Regions from separate parts of the Homo sapiens genome. Here all the other regions are linked to region 5. The links are contacts of gene promoters, found by promoter capture Hi-C in blood cells and fetal thymus (Javierre and others, 2016). All regions are on one chromosome and are shown on one strand. The core of a region is centred on a gene start or on the middle of the fragment in contact, and the rest is flanking DNA. Distances in the headings are between cores, read along the strand shown. Region 1 overlaps CREM (cAMP responsive element modulator). Region 2 overlaps ZNF25-DT (ZNF25 divergent transcript). Region 3 holds the start of ZNF25 (zinc finger protein 25). Region 4 overlaps ZNF37A (zinc finger protein 37A). Region 5 holds the start of CSGALNACT2 (chondroitin sulfate N-acetylgalactosaminyltransferase 2). Region 6 holds the start of CREM (cAMP responsive element modulator).

Region 1 (3,025 bases), core at 516-3,015, 7.9 Mb before region 5:
TCTCCTGGGTTCAAGTGATTCTTCTGCCTCAGCTTCCCGGGGAGCTGGGATTACAGGCATGAGCCACCACGCCTGGCTAATTTTTGTATTTTTAGTAGAGACGGGGTTTCACCATGTTGGGCAGGCTGGTCTCAAACTCCTGACCTCAGATGGAGTCGTCCTGACCTCAGGTGGAGGCCTCAGCCTCCTAAAGTGCTGGGATTACAGACGTGAGCCACCGCACCCGGCCACATGAATGAATTTTTAAATTAATTAGATATCCTTCATTTGGGGGTTGCAAATGTTGTACCTAATAGATTTCTATTACCTAATCTATGACAATTTAAGTATTCAGGCTATGATGCCCCAAATTTGTTTTTTTCCCTAGCTGTTACTTTCAAGTCTAATTTCTAGGCAACTCATTTCAAAACAAATGCTGACTTTGGGTTTTTTGTTTTTTTTTGTTTGTTTGTTTTTTTGACTGACTGTTCTTAGTTGTTTGAATTCTGAAGTATCCATTCTAGCTCTTATGGAAGCTGTCAGTAATGAAATAAAAGTTGAGATGTAGCCCTAAGCTTTTAGGGTTACCTGAGATTTCAACTGGATTTGCGTTATACATTATTTTAATTCAGTTGTGCCTATGATAACTGTAATAGATGTATTTAATACAGCTTTCAAAACTCCTGTGTTTTAATTGAATTCTATTCCTCTTGGTCCATTCGCTTAGGATTTAGGATATAGCACTATTTTTTAAAAATTTGCTTGCTTGTTTGTTTGTTTGTTTATTTATTTATTTATTTATTTATTTTTGAGACAGAGTCTCGCTCTGTTGCCCAGGCTGGAGTGCAGTGGCGCGATCTCGGCTCACTGCGACCTCCGCCTCCCAGGTTCAAGCAATTCTTCTGCCTCAGCCTCCCGAGTAGCTGGGACTACAGGTGCATAACGCCATGCCCGGCTAATTTATTGTATTTTAGTAGAGACGGGGTTTCACCGTATTGCCCAGGCTGGTCGTGAACTCCTGAGCTCAGGCAGTCCACCCACCTTGGCCTCCCAAAGTGCTGGGATTACAGGCAGCACTAACGTTAAGGAAAGTAAAATCAGTTATTTTAGTTCGAATGTCTTGCAGGTATGATAAGCATATTATAATTGATGAGTCTCTTGATAATTATACTCAGGTATTTTGGGGGTTAATGTGGACTATGGTAAAAGTGTGTGAAGAACTGAGGTGGTGGCATTTATGGAGTAAAAAATGCATAGTACAAACCCAGTACTTTAATGTTTTCTTGAAATGTAAAATGAAAGCCACCTGTTCTATTCCCCCCATACTCATGGACCATATTTATGTCTAGGTGAATAATCTTAAAGAATAATTATTTCTTCTCATTTTATCTTTGTTACATGGAAGAATCTACTGCAAACAACAGAGTTTTGAGAATTTTTAATGTTTTACACAATATGCACGTAAGTTTGTGCCTTGGGGTTTTTAAGAATTTTCTTCCACAAGTCACAAAGATTTTTTTCCACATTTTCTTCTATTTGCTTTATGGTTTTACCTTTCACATTTATGTCTTTAATGTATCTGGGCTTCACTTCTGTATATAGTATTTGGTGGGAATTCATTTTTAACTTTTTTCTCCGTATATGGAGCCACTCCCAAGGGTTTGTTGTTTCCTCACTGGTGTATGGGGCAGCCTTAATTAGACAGTGGGTTTGCTTTTGCACCTGGATCTGGCCAGTCTTCTGTCTGATTCATCTTTTTCTGAATCCCAGCGCCATACATGTTTGTTATCTCATAAAACAAGTTCCCCTTGTCTTTTTTCTCAGTTTGATACAGAGTTAGTTTTTTGTGCACGATTATTCTTTCATATGCATTTGGAATAAGTTTGAGTTTCTAAATAGTAGTAGTAATAATAATAATAATAAAACCAATGATGAGACTGCATTAATTTTTTTTTTCTTGAGATGGAGTCTCGCTCTGTTGCCCTGCCTGGAGTGCAGTGGCACGATGGCTCACTGCAAGCTCCACCTCCCGGGTTCACGCCATTCTTCTGCCTCAGCCTCCCAAGTAGCTGGGACTACAGGCGCCTGCCACCATGTCCGACTAATTTTTTTGTATTTTTAGTAGATACAGGGTTTCACCATGTTCGCCAGGATGGTCTCGATCTCCTGACCTCATGATCCGCCCACCTCAGCCTCCCGAAGTGCTGGGATTACAGGCATGAGCCACCATGCCCAGCCAAGACTGCATTTAATTTAGGGAGAGCTGAAGTCTTCATAATGTTAAGTTGACCTATCCCAAACCATAGAAAGTCTTGTTTATTCAGATCTCATTTTACTTCTTTTAACAGTTGAACATTTTTCTTTTTATTTATTTATTTATTTATTATACTTTAAGTTTTAGGGAACAGTTGAACATTTTTCTTCACGGAGATCTTGCATATTCTTTCTTTAGTTGGTTCCTAAGTACTTTATGGGTTTTGTTGCCATTACAATGGTACCTTATTTTGTATTGTATTTTCTAATTGTTGCTGGTGTAGAGAAATACGGATTATTTTAAGTCGATCTTTTATCTATTAACTTTGCTGAACTCTAATTACTTCTAATAATTTACTGATTCTTTGTGATTCGGTCTGTGATCCTATGTGAATGTTTATACAAATAGTGATGTTTTGTTTCCTCCCTTCCAATCTTTATTCCTGTTTTCTTTTTCTCTTTTTTTCTTTTCCTTAAATAATCATGGCCAGGAGCTCCAGTTTAAACACAGCAAGGCCAGTGGGCATTCTTGTCTTCCTGAACTTAGTGGCAGTGTTCCCTGCCCTCCTTCTCCCTTCATCTCACTGAAGGGCCCTGTCAGCTTCTTTGTGGATTCTCAGTGCCTGTCTTGGCTGATGCCTCAGCAGTATTTAACACTGTCGACTTCTGCTTCCTCCACTTCCTGAGACTGTGTCCTCCTTGCTCTTCTCTCTCTGCTGCTTCTCTGTCAGTCCTGTTGCTGGGCTAAGCTTCCCCTGCCCCTGTCCTGAGTGTTTCAGTGATCCTCAGGCTC
Region 2 (3,215 bases), core at 89-2,588, 5.1 Mb before region 5:
CATGTATACATATGTAACTAATCTGCACAATGTGCACGTGTACCCTAAAACTTAAAGTATATAAAAAAAAAAAAAAGTTAGCTGCGCATGTTGGCAGGCACCTGTAGTCCCAGCTACTTGGGAGGCTGAGGCAGGAGAAGTGTTTGAACCCAGGAGGCAGAGGTTGCAGTGAGCTGAGATCAAGCCACTGCACTCCAGCCTGGGCGAGAGAGCAAGACTCCATCTCAGAAAAAAAAAAAAAGTGTAGCTCAAGCCTATTATCCTAGCAATTTGGGAGGCTGAGGGGGGCAGATCCCTTGAGCCCAGCAGTTCATGACCAGCCTGGGTAACATAGCAAAATCCTATCTCTACAAAATATACAAAAATTAGCCAAGTGTGATGGCATGTGCCTGTCGTCCCAGCTACTTGGTAGATTGAGGCAGAAGGATCCCTTGAGCCCAGGAGGTTGAGGTTACAGTGAGCCAGGAAAGCACCACTGCACTCGAGCCTGGGTGACAGAGTGAGACCCTGTCTCAAAAACAAACAAATAAAACCCAGCATTTATATATTCCTAGCAGCACTATTCACGATATCAAAATTATGGAACCAAGCTAAGTGTCCATCAACAGTTGACTGAATAAATAAAATATGGTACATATGTGCCACAGAATATTACCCAGCCTTTAAAAAGAATGAAATTATGTCCTTTGCCACAATATGGATGGAGCTGGAGGCCATTATCATAAGCAGAGTAACTCAGAAACAGAAAACCAAATACTGCATATTCACACTTATAAGTGGGAGCTAAACAATCGGTACAAATTGACACAAAGATGGAAATAATAGACAACTGTGGACTCCAAAAGGGGGGAGGGTGGAAAGGGGTGAGGACTCACTATTTGGATAATGTTGACTATTTAGGTAATGGGTACACTAAAAGTCCAATCCCCACCAGTTCACAATATGCCCATGTAGCAAACATGCACATGTACTCCTGAATCTAAAATCAAACAAAGTTAAAAACATAAAAAGCTTAGTTATGCTAAAAATAACTCCCCCCCTCAAAGAAAAACAGCAAAAGCCCCCACTAAAACAAGAGAAAACATAACTGGTAGGCTGAGTAGACTGTCTTCCTGATGTGAGTGGGCCTCATCTGGTCAGTTGAAGGATTGAATAAAACAAGCCTTCTTATTGACACATTAGCTTTTTCCTGCCTTAGGACTTGAATTGAAAGATCTGCTCTTCCTGGGCCTCATGCTTGCAGGCCTTCAGCCTGGAACTACACAACTGGCTCTCCTGGGTCCCCAAACATGGACTCATCATCCTTCAGATCTTGAGAGTTGTCAACCTCCATAATTGCATGATTGCATAAGCCAATTCCTTATGATAAATCTCTCTCATATATATACACATATGTAAATATATACACATGTATATATGCAAGTATACAAACACACACACACACATGCACACACACACTTAGTTTCTCTGGAGAACCTGATATAATACTTAAAGCACATTTAATGAGGAATTACAATATTCCAGGTAGGCCTTGGGCTAGGGGCTCCTACATTTTATTTTCAGAACCCTGGGTGGTAGAGTAGATTGACCCAGTTTGAAGATGGTAAGTGAAAACCAGAGAGGAGTTCCAGATCCAGTGAACTACTTTCACTTGTTAGTGGGGACACAAGCTTCATCCAAATTGGTAGGCCACTCCTGCCACCCCCAGCCACTCTGGGGTGGATAAGTGGTCATTCCCAGGAAGGTGATCAAGCTCCCCTTCTGTCCTTATGGGACGGACTTTTCCAGGGCCCAACCTTACCGCAGTTCAGTAGTCTGCCTCTGTGCTGCTCCTGTGACTGTCCCGCAACTCCCGAGTCGGTTGCGTTTGCACTGTCAGGGGAAGGCTCCAATAAACAGGAGAGCCATTCTCCTTCTGGGCTAAGTCTTACCCAGTGGCACCAAGGGTCCCAAATCTCCTGCATCCTGTGGCTCTAGCCCACAGGCAAAGGAGACAGAAACCTGCCATCTCCAATCCCAGACAGGCCCCCAGATATGTTACGGGACAATCAGAGATGGGAGAGACCGAACAGAATTCAGGAAAGCCTTTATTAAGTTGATCACCTGGCTCAGTAGGACTAGTGTCCAGGAAAGTCTGAACCCTGGACAAAGAATGCAGCCTCCTTTTAAGCTTCCAGTGGCCAGGAGCTATGTGATGCAGGAAGTGTACTTACAGAAGTGAGAACAAAGGCAGTTGATCAGTCTTTTACATTTACCTATACTACTTGTTCCACATCCTTGGGAAACAATGTTTCTGTAACATATACTTATCAACCTTGTAACTTTGCAGCTGCACTAGGGAGGTGAAGCAGGAATTCACTGAGCCCCAAGGAATGGGAAACTGGTGAGTACAGATAAGGCTTGCTGAGCACAGAAGGAAAACCAGGCAGTTAGTATTCTTCTCTAACTTAGACTATGGGGGTGGGGGCTATACTACACTTAGCTTAGAAGGAAAAAGTAAAAATTTCTTGGTGGTCTTTGATTATACTTGCAAAATTCATGAATTCCTTCTTCATTGGAGGTTGCAGTGAGTTGAGATCATGCCACTGCGCTCCAGCCTGGTGACAGAGCTAGACTCCGTCTCAAAAAAAAAAAAAAGTATTTGTAAATTTGGGATACAATTTACATACAAAAATTACTCCCTTAAAAGTGTGTAATTCAATAATAATTATAGTCACAAAGTTGTACAACCATCACCACTATCTAATTCCAGAACATTTTGATCACCCTTCAGCTTCTTTTAGTTCTCCCAGAACTCTCCACATTGATCCCACTCTGGCTACCAGCACTAGCTGGACAGTAATGACTCTCAGAGGTGAACACAATATGCCTCAACATGCCTTTCTGGAAGTTCACATAGGAACTGCACAGCACCTGAATTCCAGTTCTGCAAAGCTCTTCTCTGAATACTGGAGGTACCAGCATGATCCTGGCACTGCCCCTGCCTCCGCTGTCTGTCTAATTGTAGCTCTCTGGGGCCACTCTTGTGAGTTTCTAAGTTCTGAGGACCTTAATCTTTTCCACTGTTTCCCAGCCCTAGACAGGTAGCTGCTACCTGATGTTGTCATCCCGTGTTAGCTCAGTGTTCATTTTTACCATTAAAACACCTGCTTTAAATAATCTTCATCAAATTCTCTCAGTTGTAATACTTGAGTGATCTCTCTTTTACCATTTGA
Region 3 (3,025 bases), core at 405-2,904, 5.2 Mb before region 5:
CATGAAATAAGCCAGGCACAGAAAGACAAATATCATGTTCTCACTCATACGCAGGAGCTAAGATAGTTGATCTCATGAAGATACGATGTAGAATGATGGTTACCAGAGGCTGCGAAGGGAAGTAGGGAGTGAGGAATGAAGAGAGGTTGGTTAATGGGTACAAAAATACAGTTAGGTAGAAGGATTAAGTCCTAGTGTTCAATAGCACAGTATGGTTACAAGTGTTAGCAATAATTTATTAGCTATCAGAATAGCTAGAAGATTTCGAATATTTGCAACACAAAGAAATGATAAATGAGGCGGTGGATATTGTAATTACCCCGATTTGATCATGACACATTGTATGCATATATCAAAATATCACATGTACCCCACAAATATGTACATTATGTACCAAAAAAAAAAACTAAAATAAGCAGCAAAAACCACTTCCAGCTAGCATGGTGCTTACGAAATGCCTAAGCTCAGTTATCAGCCAATGAGAGGCATTATAAGATCACCACCATAAAATGGAGGAACTGATGAACTGCAGTTTTCATCTTTAAAAAAATTTTTTGTCCCATTTCCTGTCTTTAGAAACTAGCCTCTGGGCTGGATGGGATTCCCAGCTTCTCCTGTAAAATGCAAAATTGAGGGCTCAAATTGTGGTTTCAATTTACACGTTTCACAGTCCTCTGAGAAGAGACTAAGGTTGGAGGATGCAGGAAGGCCTTAAATAATTCACCTTTTGACTCAAGTGCTCTGAAGATTCCCCAAGCATTTTTGGAAACAGAACACTACCTGGTTGAGACTGGGTTCAAGTACACCACACAGCTACGTTCTGGTGGTGCTCAAGGGGCAAATGCTGTGCTAAATACAAGTCAAGACTGGATTTTAGTGTGGCAAGGCGCATTAACTCAGAGGAAAAAGTGAGGATTTACATCCCACCTGCTAATACTGTGGGTAAACGGATTTCTCTCTCTGAATCTTTAATAGTCACATTTATTTTAATAGAGATGGTTAAGTCGAAAGGATGGTTACGATGATTAAATGAGCCAATAATGAAAACAGCATGTTTTGTAATAATAGAAGCAGCTCACCTTTATTGAGTCCTGTATCATACTTTACATCTATTACCCTATTCAGTACCCAAAGGCCCCCATCATTTGCCAGATGCGCGTCGAGCCGCACTGGGACCACCTACAGACGCTGGACCAGAGCCCACGTCCCTGCGGCTTTGGAGCGCCGCGTCTGCAGCGGCCAGCGCGCCTCACATGGCGGCTCCGGTCACGTCACACAATGCGGCTGCTCCGGGCGCCCACTGCCCAGCACCGCAGGCCTCCTCTGGCCGCCCCTCAAGCAGGTCGCGCAAACGCCATTCCGGGCAGGGGCGCCAGCGCAGCCAGCCAACCTCCCCACCAGGCGGCTCCCACCCAGGGCCCTCCGCGGAGGCCGCTCCGGGGCCAGGAGGCGGCTTCCAGGCTCGAGACCCCGCCTCCCAGGCCCTGCCCGCCCGCAAAAGCCTTCGACACACCTGCAGGGTCTCGGCCTCTGCTCCCGGCCCGCGCCGGGCCCAGGCCCCGCCCTTTGCGGCCCAGCCCAGACCCGGAGGCACCGGAGTCCTCTCCCCACCCTAGGGCGTAAGACCAAAAAAACGCCAATGCCAGAAAGAAGACACTGCACATGCGCAGAACGTTTCCCTAGCCCTACTCCAGAACTACGCTTCCCAGAAGGCCCGGCTGCGACTCCATCTTGGATGACGTCGTGAGGCGCGGCCGCCTCCAGCGGCCTGAGTGATTGCTGTCGGGTTTCCGGGAGAGGGCGCTGTCCTTGCTCAGTGATGGCCGGAGAGCTGCACCCTGCACGTCTGGGCTTGAAGACAGAAATCCACCGTGAGGTGCTCCAAGGAACACTGATGGGCAGTTTTGTTAAAGTGATTGAACTCCGTGGGTACAGGAGTACGTGGAGTAATGAAGGATAATGCCCTGTAACCGCTTCCTCTTAGGAATGCTAGCTTTCACAATTGTGCAAACGGTACGCGAAACGTAATAAACTACAAAATATGTATAAGCTAAAACAGAAAACGAGTATACCACTTCCCAAAAGCAAAAGCGCTTAATGTTAGGTGAACATCCTTCTCATGAATTTACACAAATTTTAACCTAATGGTATAGAGTATCATGACTATCATTTCACTAAGGAATATATATAGTCATCCCTCCTTATCCTGGGGGTGCATATCTATGGATTCAACTAAGCTCAGAATGAAAATACTTAAAAATTCTATCTTACTGAACATGTACAAAGTTTCCCCCTTGTCATTATACCCTAAACAATACAATAAAACTATTTACATAGTATTTACATTGTGTTAGGTGTACAATTAATCTAGACATAATTTAAAATATACAGGAGGAGGTGTGTAGGTTATGCAAATATCAGGTTATTTTCTACCAGAGACTTGAACATCCCTGGATTTGAGTAATCCAGGGAGGTCCTGGTACTAATCCCCCGCGGATACAGAGAGAGGACTTGGCTGTATATGTAAAACAAATTATATATTTCCTGGTCAATAACTTTATTACATTAAAACATGTAGAATCATCTAGAAAAAAACGTATATATTGTCATGTGTATAAACACACATATATATACATATAAAAATATGCGCACATAATACACACACACACACCACCTTTCTGGATGGGAAGTATTGAGGAAATAATTTAAAATAAAGCCTCTTGCCAACCCAGAAAATTCTCTCCACAGATGGAGAAAAGAACAAAACAGTTACATTATTGAATAAACATTAAACCAGACTGCGATGTGCGTCACAGGCAACCCACTAATGAGTTTATGAAGACAGGAAGAACTATCATTTTTTGTATTAGCCGGTCTGGTACAACGCATTCTATTTCCTCAAGGTAAAAATAACTTGTCCTCAAGTAAGATGACTGTACAGCAACATTTGCTATGCATAATTCATCTGAAATTCACCTGATAATTAGGGTAGCCATCAGTGTTAGTTAATTGCCATTATGCAAAT
Region 4 (3,097 bases), core at 474-2,973, 5.0 Mb before region 5:
AATGAGTAATCCCCATCAGTGTCTTCAATTTTGCTGATTCTTTGTTCTCTTTGAGCTCCAATCTGTCACTGATTTTCACTGATTTTAAAAAATTTTAGTTGTTGTACTTGTCAGCTCCAGACAGTCCTAATTACATTTTTATAATTTTCTACTCTACATTAATATTTTATATTTGGCACAGCATCATTCTCCTGGTTTCTGTTAGTTCTTTGTCTGCTTTCATTTAGCTCTTTGAGCACATTTAGAACAGATGATTTAAATTCTTTATCTAGTAAGACCAGTATCAAAGGTGTCTTTGAGTACAGGTTTTATTTCTTTTTTCTGTGTGTCTGTGGGTCATATTATCTTCTTTGCATGCCTCATAATTTTTTATTGAAAACTGAACATTTTGAATATTAAAATGTGCTAATTCTAGAAATCAGATTCTTTTCCTCAGAATTTGTTGTTGCTGTTTATTTTGTATTATTTGCTTATTTTGTGACTTTTATAAACTATTTTTGTAAAGTCAGTGTTCTTTGTTGTACATGGTCACTGAAACCTCTGTTCTATTAGTTTAGTGGTCGTCTGTGATTTGACAGAGATTTCTTTAAATGCCTAGAGCCAAAACAAAACAAAAAACTCTTCTGGTCTGTGCATATTGGCCCTGTTTTAGGGCGCTCCTGTAATGGCTTGCCAGGCCATTTACATCTCTGCATTAACCTTTACTTCCTGCTTACACAGAGCGTGAAGGTCAACCAGATGTGAAAGCTTAGGTTCCTCTCAGGTTTTTTCTGAGCATGCATATTGTCTTGGACTTACACATGATCTCAATTCCCTGCTTTATGCAGGAGCTTTTCAAACCCCTTATCCCCACCCCTGGCCCCATGTGTTTCCTTCCCAGTTTTTACATTCCCAGTTTTTCAGTCCATCTGCTGCTTTTCTCATCTGGCTACTGTGGCCAGATAATTGCCTTTAAATGCTTTCAACAAGCACTTCCTGGAAGACTAGCCCTGAGAAAGTTTCAAGGAAGGCAAAACAAAGACAAGCCTGTGAGCCACTTCTTCAGAGAGCCCGCATAGACAGATCAAAATACACAACTACAGTTCTCTGAAAACAAGGTGCATACTGTCCACGTTGGCACAGGCATCAGCAAGTCATACCAGGAATGTTCTGGGTGTACTAGGTTTTTAATTAGATTGGAGAATTCTGAAAAGCTTGATGCTGAGAGGTGTTTTTTGTTTTTTTTTTCTTCCCCAGCTTAATTGTTGCTTTAGTTTGGGATGGAGTTTTGGAGTTACCTTTTCCATTTTCAGCCTACCCCCCACATCAGTTTTTGAGTAATTACTCTGTGGAACAACAGATGTGCCTGGCCCATCTTGTCCTTTTCCTGCAGTACCTCTACCATTAGCCATTTCTCCAAAGGACATTGTTCTTTCTAGTGGAGGATGGAATTTAAAAACCAAGATCTGGGTGCTTATTGCTAAAGGTTGTCACTGCCTCAATCCCTCTCAATTGACAGTTAGGAAATACATGTGTGTATGTATACATACACACACACACACAGAAATACACATGTGTACACCTATTTTTGTATTGGTCTGTCTATACATATTTTTTAAACAATGAGTTTACGTAGACATTTCCCAGTTTCAATCTTAACCCCATAGCCTTTCTGTTTTCCATCTTTGTAACTTCTTTCTTCAACAGTGAGAAACCAGGCTATACCATTATCCACAATATTTATTTGCTCCTTCTCCCTGTTTGCATCCAATATTTTTTCTTTTTTTTTTTTTTTGAGATGGAGTTTTGCTCTTGGTGCCCAGGCTGGAATGCAATGGCATGATCTCAGCTCACCGCAACCTCCGCCTTCTGGGTTCAAGTGATTCTCCTACCTCAGCCTCCCAAGTAGCTGGGATTACAGACATGTGCCACCATGCCTGGCTAATTTTGTATTTTTAGTAGAGACAGGGTTTCTCCATGTTGGTCAGGCTGGTCTCGAACTCCCGACCTCAGGTGATCTGCCCACCTTGGCCTAACAAAGTGTTGGGATTACAGATGTGAGCCACCGTGCCCAGCCTGTATCTAATCTCTTACCTGCCAGTGCTACCTGTCTCCTCAGCTCTGGTTTGATCCCTTAGATCACCATTCCTGGAATTATCCATAGTTGCTATATTAAATATTCAAATCAGATTTGATGTATTAAAACATTTTAGAAGTTAAAAGGGGCCATTTGACTAAGTCTTCTTATTTTTGGAAAAACATCATTACTTTATGTAAGCTTATCAAAAATAAAATTTCTGATTATTAGCAGCACAGTATCTAAACCTGTCTCTATAGGTTGTCAAGCCACTACTTTGTCCATTAAATTATAAGGACACTTATCCCATTCATGAAGGCAGAGCTTCCTAATCACCTCCTAAAGGCCATGCCGCTTCATACTATTGCAATGGTATTAGATTTCAACATATGAAGTTGTGAAGGGGACATACATTCAGACCATAGCACTAAGTATTTTATTTTACTGAATACTACCATAAATGGAATTATTTTCTGAATTTCCTTTTGGATTGTTCATTGTTGGAGTATTTTTTTTAAAAAAACCTAATTGTTGTGTGTTGATTTTGTACTCTGCAACTATGCCAAAACTATTTGTTAGCTCATAGATGTTTTGTGGATTATATGCTAAATAATGTTATCTGCAAATAGAGTAGTTTTACTTCTGCCTTTCAATTTGAATGTCTTTTATTTTTTTTTTCTTGCCTATTTGCTCTGGCTAGAACTTTTAATACAGTGTTGAATTGCAGTGGTGTGAAAGCACTATCATTGCCTGTTCATGATCTTAGGGGGGGATCTTTCAGTCTTTCACTGTGGAGTATGTTACCTATGAGTTTTTTGTATATGTGCTTTATTATGTGGAGGAACAGGCAGCAGTCTTTGCTGTTTGGCAGCCTCCACTGGTGATACCGAGGCAAACAGGGTCTGGAGTGGACCTCCAGCAAACTCCAGCAGACCTGCAGCAGAGGGGCCTGACTATTAGAAGGAAAACTAACAAAGAGAAAGGAATAACATCAACATCAACAAAAAGGACATCCATTCAGAAACCCCATCTGAAGGTCAC
Region 5 (2,965 bases), core at 235-2,734:
TATTTTACAACTATATCCCAGTGTATCACCCATGATCAGCCACATAATTTGAATCATGCATTATCTTCTCTCCACATTCAAATTACATACATTTAGTATTTGGCTACTTAAAAAAAAATCATTAAAAAGTAACAATTTAAATCCATTGATGGGAGAACCTCAGTTAGTTTCAAAACAACAATTCTTGCCAGGCGGGGTGACTCACGCCTGTAATGCCAGCACTTTGGGAGGCCGAAGCTGGAAGATCGCTTGAGCCCAGGAGTTCAAGGCCAGCCTAGGCAACAGAGGGAGGCCCCATCTCTACCAAAAAAAATATTAACAATTAGCCGGGCATGGTGGCATGCACCTGTGGTCCCAGCTACTCGGGAGGCTGAGGCGAGAGGATCGCTGGAGTCGGAGGTGGGGAGGCTGCAGTGAACCGTGATCGCTCCACTGCACTCCAGCCTGGGCGACAGAGCGGGACCCTGTCTCAAAAAATAGATGAATAAATAAATAAAAACAATTATAATGGAAGTTTGGATAGGAATTTAAAACATGTGGCAACTAACCCTGACCCTGCGGCTTCAGTCTCCCCGCCGCTAGCTGAGGGCCGTGGCCGCTGCACAGAGGCTTGTGAGGATTCGGGGGTTCAGGCAGCGCCCGCCGCGCATCTGCCAGACGTGCGGCCACAGGGTAGGAGCAGTAAGAAGGATCCAGGGAAAAAAGTCCACGAATGAGAAAGGAAACCCAGCGTTTGTAGGGCTAGGAGAACAAAGAAAGAAAATGCTGGCGGCGGAGGGCGAGGCTCTGCGGTGCGTGGCAGATGGGAATTTGCTCGGTGGCGGCTCCTCTTTCTGGAGAGCTTCCCAGCGTCCCCTCCCCCGCCAGCCCGCGGTGACGCGCCCGGCACCCACCACAGCCGGCTCTCGGCGCCGTCGCGCCTTCGCTCGCCCGCTTAGGCCGTGCTCGCGGTGGCGTGGGAGACAGAGAGCCCAGGGAGGACCCTGGAACATGCAGTGGTATGGAAGACGCCTAAGAAAGGGCTTCTCTTTCCACTCACGAAAATCAGTGTGTGAGCTCGAAGCCATTTCCCAGCGTGTCCGCCTCAACTCCCTCATTCAACAGATGAGGAATTCCTCCAGGGAAATGCAGTGATGCGCTCACGGCTGCCGGCGGCCCAGCGCCAAGGGGCGCTCCACAGCCCCGCGGCCCGAAGCCCTCGACTCGGCTGCCACGCAGGCCCCGCGGCCCCGCTCGGACTCCCAGGATCGGCTTCCGAGCGGGACAGCGCTGCAGTCCACGAGTCCGGGCAGGGGCGCCTCCAGGCCGGAGCGGTTTCCTGCCTCGGGCACTCTGCTGTCTCCACAAACGGTTTTTGGAGGCACACACACGGATACTTTAAACACGTCGGTGATGAATCGGTACCCAGCTGCCAGTGGCGGAGCTTCCTGGGCGGGGCCGCGGGCGCGCGGCGGCTTCATTTCCTCGCGCGCGCCGGAAGTGGCCTCTCAGGCGCGGCGGCGCGCCCGGGGGTGGGTGGCTGAGGCGGCGGCGGGCCCAAGGCGTGAGGCGCCGCCCGGGTGTCCCCGCGGCGCAGGAGGCGGTGGAGCGCAGAGCGGGCGAGCGCGGTGAGTACCTGGCCCGGCCTCGCCCGCCGGTCCGCGACTCCCGCCGGCTCCGGCCCGGGCGGTGCGGGCGCCGGGGCTGCGGGCTCCTGTGTGGTCGGGTGGGGTCGCCTAGCGGACCGGTCCTGCGGGGGGCCCTGTCTCTCAGGGATGAGCCTGCCGGAGTCGGCACCGGTTTTAGGGAAAGCGCGGCCAGAGACGATTGGTTCGCTTGTCAGTGTTGGGTTTTGTTTTGTTTCGTTTTGTTTTTACCTATTCATCACCATCTCTGCTCCTCTCAGTGGATAAACTTTTTAATCAGTGGTGACCTCGTCATCGCGTTAAAATAGTTCTGCCCTCAGCCCCTCTTTATCTGTAGATGGCAGAGCGAGCGCCGGTAAAGATGCTCTGTCGTGGAGGGCTCAGTGGGGCGGAGGAGATGGGGAGCCTCTGGCGTTGTCGGAGAATGCACCTTAAAAATGACTCTACCCTTGAGCAACGCAGGAAGCACGACAGTGATACTTCTGTTTGTGATGATGGTATTGGCGGTATGATAGTTTGATTATACATCTGAAGCTTCTCTTCCTGAGTCCTTGGCTTGTTAAACTTGGAGGTATTTTCTAGCGTGCTTTTGAGATAGATATGGGATGTCGTGACGTTTCACCGTCATTCAAGGCTCGCGGGAGCAGGGCCTTCATGTCTGGTAATTAATGTTGTTTTTTGAATGTTGTATTAAAATAGTAGCTTCGATCTTGGAAGTAAGAAGCCAAGTATTTTAGGACTGAGTGTTAGCGTTCATTTTGTATTATTGTTCTTGTACCATTTGTTTAAAGTTGTCATGTAACTAAAAGAATGAAAAAAGATGGATTTCCAGTATTTGTGGCTCAGAGGATTTTGGCCTAAATAAACACAGTTCCAACCAGTTTAGAAGCTGCATTTTTCTCTTTGTTTTTGTCGAGGCATAAAATACATATGAAATCAATAAGAGCACGAATCTTAATTGTACAGCTCAATGAATTTTTACATACTTATTACCCTGTGGAACCACCAGATATATCAAATTATAACCATAGAACATTTCCATCATCCTATTTTCCTGTGCTTCTTCCAAGTCAGTTATATCCTTGTTTTCCCATCTGTATTCTAACTTCTCTTATCTGCTTTTAGTTTTCTCTGTTTTGAGCTTCATGTTAATGGAATCACGTAGTATTCTCAGCATATTGTTTGTGGGACACACCCATGCTATTTCATGGTATTGTATTATTACTGTGTAATAGTCTATTGAATAATATGTGACTACTCTTCAGTTGATGGACATTTATGTTCCCAATTTTTGTATATGATGTGTTTTGGATATTAAGAATACTGTGGGCCTGGCGTGG
Region 6 (2,974 bases), core at 100-2,599, 8.0 Mb before region 5:
GAACAAAGGTTCAGATTGGATTTAGATTAAGTCCTGCTCAGTGAAAATTATGAAAACACTCTGACACTACAGTAACTGATATGAAATAATAAATCCTCACTTAACATTGTCAATAGCTTCTTAGAAACTGGTTTTCAGTGAAACAACGTACAATGAAACCGATTTTTGTTATCATCAATATTATAACGAAATGAAAACAACACTGAATGAAAATTTTTTTGTGGACCTGCTGTAAGTTGTTTGGCTTAAAGCCATGATTTCTAAGAACCTATCGTTAAGTGAGGACCTACTGTACTCTATAACCATGCTGCTATTCTTTATTCCTGATATCCCATTACTTTTTTTATTTTTGAGATGGAGCCTCGCTCTGTCACCCAGACTGGAGTGCAGTGGAACGATCTCAGCTCACTGCAGCCTTGACCTCCCAGGTTCAAGCGATTCTCCTGCCTCAGCCTCCCAACTAGCTGGGACTACAGGCGTCTGCCACCACTCCTAGCTAATTTTTGTATTTTTAGTAGAGATGGGGTTTCACCATGTTGGCCAGGCTGCTCCTGACCTCAGGTGATCTGCCCATGTCTGCCTCCCAAAATGCTGGGATTACAGGCGTGAGCCCCCGGCCGACCTTTCTAATCTAAAAAAAAAAAAAGAGATGAAGTCTCACTGTGTTCCCTAGGCTGGTCTCCTGGGCTCAAGCGATCCTCCCACCTTGGCCTCCCGAAGTGTTGGGATTACAGGCCCGAGCCAGCGGGCCCAGCATGCGGACCATTTCCAGTCAAATACTGGGATAAACTGCAATAAATGACCCTAAGAAGCAGGTGAATTGTCTCAGGAGCTCAAGCTTCTTTTGGAGAAGGACTCAACCAGCTGTGACTGGCTGTGAATATGGAGGAAAAGGGCCACTAGTCAAGGTATGTAGATAGCTTTTAGAAGTCAGAAGAAGCACGCCTGCAGTCCCAGCTACTCAGGAGGCTGAGGCCGGAGGATCGCTTGAGCCTGGGGAGATAGAGGTTGCAGAGAGCCGAGACCACGCCACTGCAGCCCAGCCTGGACAGAGGTGAGACGCTCGCGGACCTTAGCTTGGGGTTGGCGGCGTTAGGAAGAAACCGACCTCGAGACCCTGAAGACCTGACAACAGCCGTTACTCTGGCTGACAAGTCATTGGATTTCTGGCGCACGCGCGGCGCGGCACGGGCAGCTTCCGGTTTCCAGCCTTGCCCCCGCCCCTACCTTCCGCCCCACCTCCAGGCTAGTTCCTCCTCTTGGCCCCGCCCCCTGACCTTCCTTCTCCCTATCCCTAGGCCCCGCCCCCTGACCCGCACCTTCCCGCCGCCCCTCCCCGGTTCCATTTCATTGTTGGATTGTGGCGCTTCACTCCTGCTGGCGGCCGGCAGGGGGCGGAGTTCGAGCCTGGATTTTTTTCCTCGGGGCCTCCCCCGGGAGGCCGTCCCGGCGTGGGGGAGGGGAGGACGGGGCGGGAGGACGCGGTTCGGTCGGCTGCAGCGCTACTTTTGGTCCGGGGTCGGCAGGGAGGCCGCGGCTACCGCATCACAGCTGACGTGAGGACTACGTGGGGCCGCTGCCGGCTCCGGGTTGCTGGGCGGCGGCGCCGCTGCTGAGCGGCGGTCGGGCTCGCCGTCTCCACCTCCTCGCGTCCGTAATCAGTGACGAGGTCCGCTACGTAAATCCCTTTGCGGCGGGTAAGTGGTGCGTCGGCTCCGGCCCCGAGACCCAGCAGCGGGCGACGCGGCGCAGGAGGTGGAGGTGGAGGCAGGAGGCGGAGCGGAGCCGGGTGCGGTGGAGCAGCAGAGGCCGAGCGGAGCCGTGGGCGGCGGGCCGGGACCCCGGGGCCGGGCCAAGGACTGGCGGGGCAGCCGCGAGTTCACCTGACGCGGCCCCTCGCTCGGCGCCCCCGAGGCCGCCGGCTCGCCGCCCCACGCCCGCTTCGTGCGCTCAGCTGCCCCGGGACCCGCCTGCCTCCTCGCGAACTTGGGACGAGTTGGAAAATCCTCCCTGAGAGAGCCGTGCGGCTCAGGGGAGCGGTTTAACTCGGAAAAGGAAAAGGAATCCAGAAGTAAGGACCTCGGATTTGAGTGCCCCCAGCGCCTCTGCCCCACTTTACGAGCGCAGTTTAGACGAAAGCGGACGCAGCCCGTTTTCCCCCAAAACCTGGGCCGGAGGGCCTCGCAGCTGAGTCATTCGGTCCCGGGCGCGGGCAGTCTCCGGAGTGGGAAGGGCAGAGCCGCGACCGCTCTCGGAAGGCGCATTTTCCCTTCTGCCTGAGTCTTGCCTTTTTAGGGCCATCTGGTAAGGTTTCCAGAGCCTGTTGAATCTGGGGAATAAACACATTATTAAACATACTTTTTTTTTTTGAGACGGAGTCTTGCTGTTACCCAGGCTGGAATGCAGGGGCATGATCTCGGCTCACTGCAGCCTCTGCCTCCTGGGTTCAAGCGATTCTCTTGCCTCAGCCTCCCGAGTAGCTGGGATTACAGGCATGCGCCACCACGCCTGCTAATTTTTGTATTTTTAGTAGAGATGGGGTTTTACCATGTTGGTCAGGCTGGTCTCGAACTCCTGACCTTCCACCCACCTCGGCCTCCCAAAGTGCTGGGATTACAGGCGTGAGCCGCCGCGCCTGGCCTCAGCATGTTTCTTGATCCTGTTGCGTTTTATTTGTATATCAGATACCTGAGTTTGAAATCACTTAGGGGTTTCCTGCATGCTGCTCAGTGAAGCAGCGGTGAGTTTGTAATCACATTTTAAGAAATTGGGACTTACAGGGCCAGTCTCAAAGTGTCACTGAAATTGAAAGAGCTCCTTTAACACTGTGGCTTACGTACGTGACTCAGTTTCCTTTCTACTTAATTTGCCGGGCAGATGAGGGTGTACCTTTCCCTTGAAACAAAGATCTAGATTGAACAGTGAGAGGTCCGCTGTGAACATTGCATCAGATTACATGAATAAACCACGCTGT

What was found. The method cuts DNA at HindIII sites, captures the fragments that hold promoters and counts their contacts. A CHiCAGO score of 5 or more calls a contact.
Region 1: a fragment that was not itself captured here is called in contact with the fragment with the promoter of CSGALNACT2 in region 5 in 1 of 17 cell types (M0 macrophages); the score reaches 5.6 in M0 macrophages.
Region 2: a contact is called between a fragment that was not itself captured here and the fragment with the promoter of CSGALNACT2 in region 5, in 2 of 17 cell types (naive B cells and activated CD4 T cells). The highest score is 8.6, in naive B cells.
Region 3: a contact is called between the fragment with the promoter of ZNF25 here and the fragment with the promoter of CSGALNACT2 in region 5, in 4 of 17 cell types (naive CD8 T cells, naive CD4 T cells, total CD4 T cells and 1 more). The highest score is 19.1, in naive CD8 T cells.
Region 4: a fragment that was not itself captured here is called in contact with the fragment with the promoter of CSGALNACT2 in region 5 in 1 of 17 cell types (activated CD4 T cells); the score reaches 7.7 in activated CD4 T cells.
Region 6: the fragment with the promoter of CREM here is called in contact with the fragment with the promoter of CSGALNACT2 in region 5 in 6 of 17 cell types (naive CD4 T cells, non-activated CD4 T cells, total B cells and 3 more); the score reaches 10.3 in naive CD4 T cells.

What each region holds. Positions count from the first base shown.
Region 1 is chr10:35,188,745-35,191,769 of GRCh38, forward strand. All of the region lies in intron 6 of CREM (cAMP responsive element modulator), which reads left to right. Among named protein-coding and RNA genes, the nearest start is that of LINC02634, 54 kb to the right of the region's middle. The HindIII fragment of the contact is 2,427 bases long and covers 553-2,979 here.
Region 2 is chr10:38,001,391-38,004,605 of GRCh38, forward strand. It overlaps ZNF25-DT (ZNF25 divergent transcript), which reads left to right. Exons shown (of 6, transcript XR_930830.4): 5 at 2,330-2,383; 6 at 2,774-3,165. Among named protein-coding and RNA genes, the nearest start is that of ZNF33A, 7.7 kb to the right of the region's middle. The HindIII fragment of the contact is 659 bases long and covers 1,010-1,668 here.
Region 3 is chr10:37,974,993-37,978,017 of GRCh38, forward strand. It overlaps ZNF25 (zinc finger protein 25), which reads right to left and starts at 1,655. Exons shown (of 6, transcript NM_145011.4): 1 at 1,514-1,655. It overlaps ZNF25-DT (ZNF25 divergent transcript), which reads left to right and starts at 1,763. Exons shown (of 6, transcript XR_930830.4): 1 at 1,763-2,013. RefSeq lists enhancers at 539-628, 1,669-1,898 and a silencer at 1,219-1,628. The HindIII fragment of the contact is 11,670 bases long and covers 1-3,025 here.
Region 4 is chr10:38,103,249-38,106,345 of GRCh38, forward strand. All of the region lies in intron 5 of ZNF37A (zinc finger protein 37A), which reads left to right. Among named protein-coding and RNA genes, the nearest start is that of ZNF37A, 10 kb to the left of the region's middle. The HindIII fragment of the contact is 1,064 bases long and covers 1,192-2,255 here.
Region 5 is chr10:43,136,961-43,139,925 of GRCh38, forward strand. CSGALNACT2 (chondroitin sulfate N-acetylgalactosaminyltransferase 2) reads left to right here and starts at 1,485. Exons shown (of 8, transcript NM_018590.5): 1 at 1,485-1,607. It overlaps CSGALNACT2-DT (CSGALNACT2 divergent transcript), which reads right to left and starts at 1,433. Exons shown (of 1, transcript NR_186456.1): 1 at 1-1,433. RefSeq lists silencers at 782-981, 1,112-1,171, 1,342-1,841, 1,952-2,021. The HindIII fragment of the contact is 5,511 bases long and covers 1-2,157 here.
Region 6 is chr10:35,125,497-35,128,470 of GRCh38, forward strand. CREM (cAMP responsive element modulator) reads left to right here and starts at 1,350. Exons shown (of 8, transcript NM_183011.2): 1 at 1,350-1,697. It also overlaps a transcript of CUL2 not described here. RefSeq lists silencers at 1,238-1,757, 1,818-1,957 and an enhancer at 2,318-2,387. The HindIII fragment of the contact is 8,974 bases long and covers 837-2,974 here.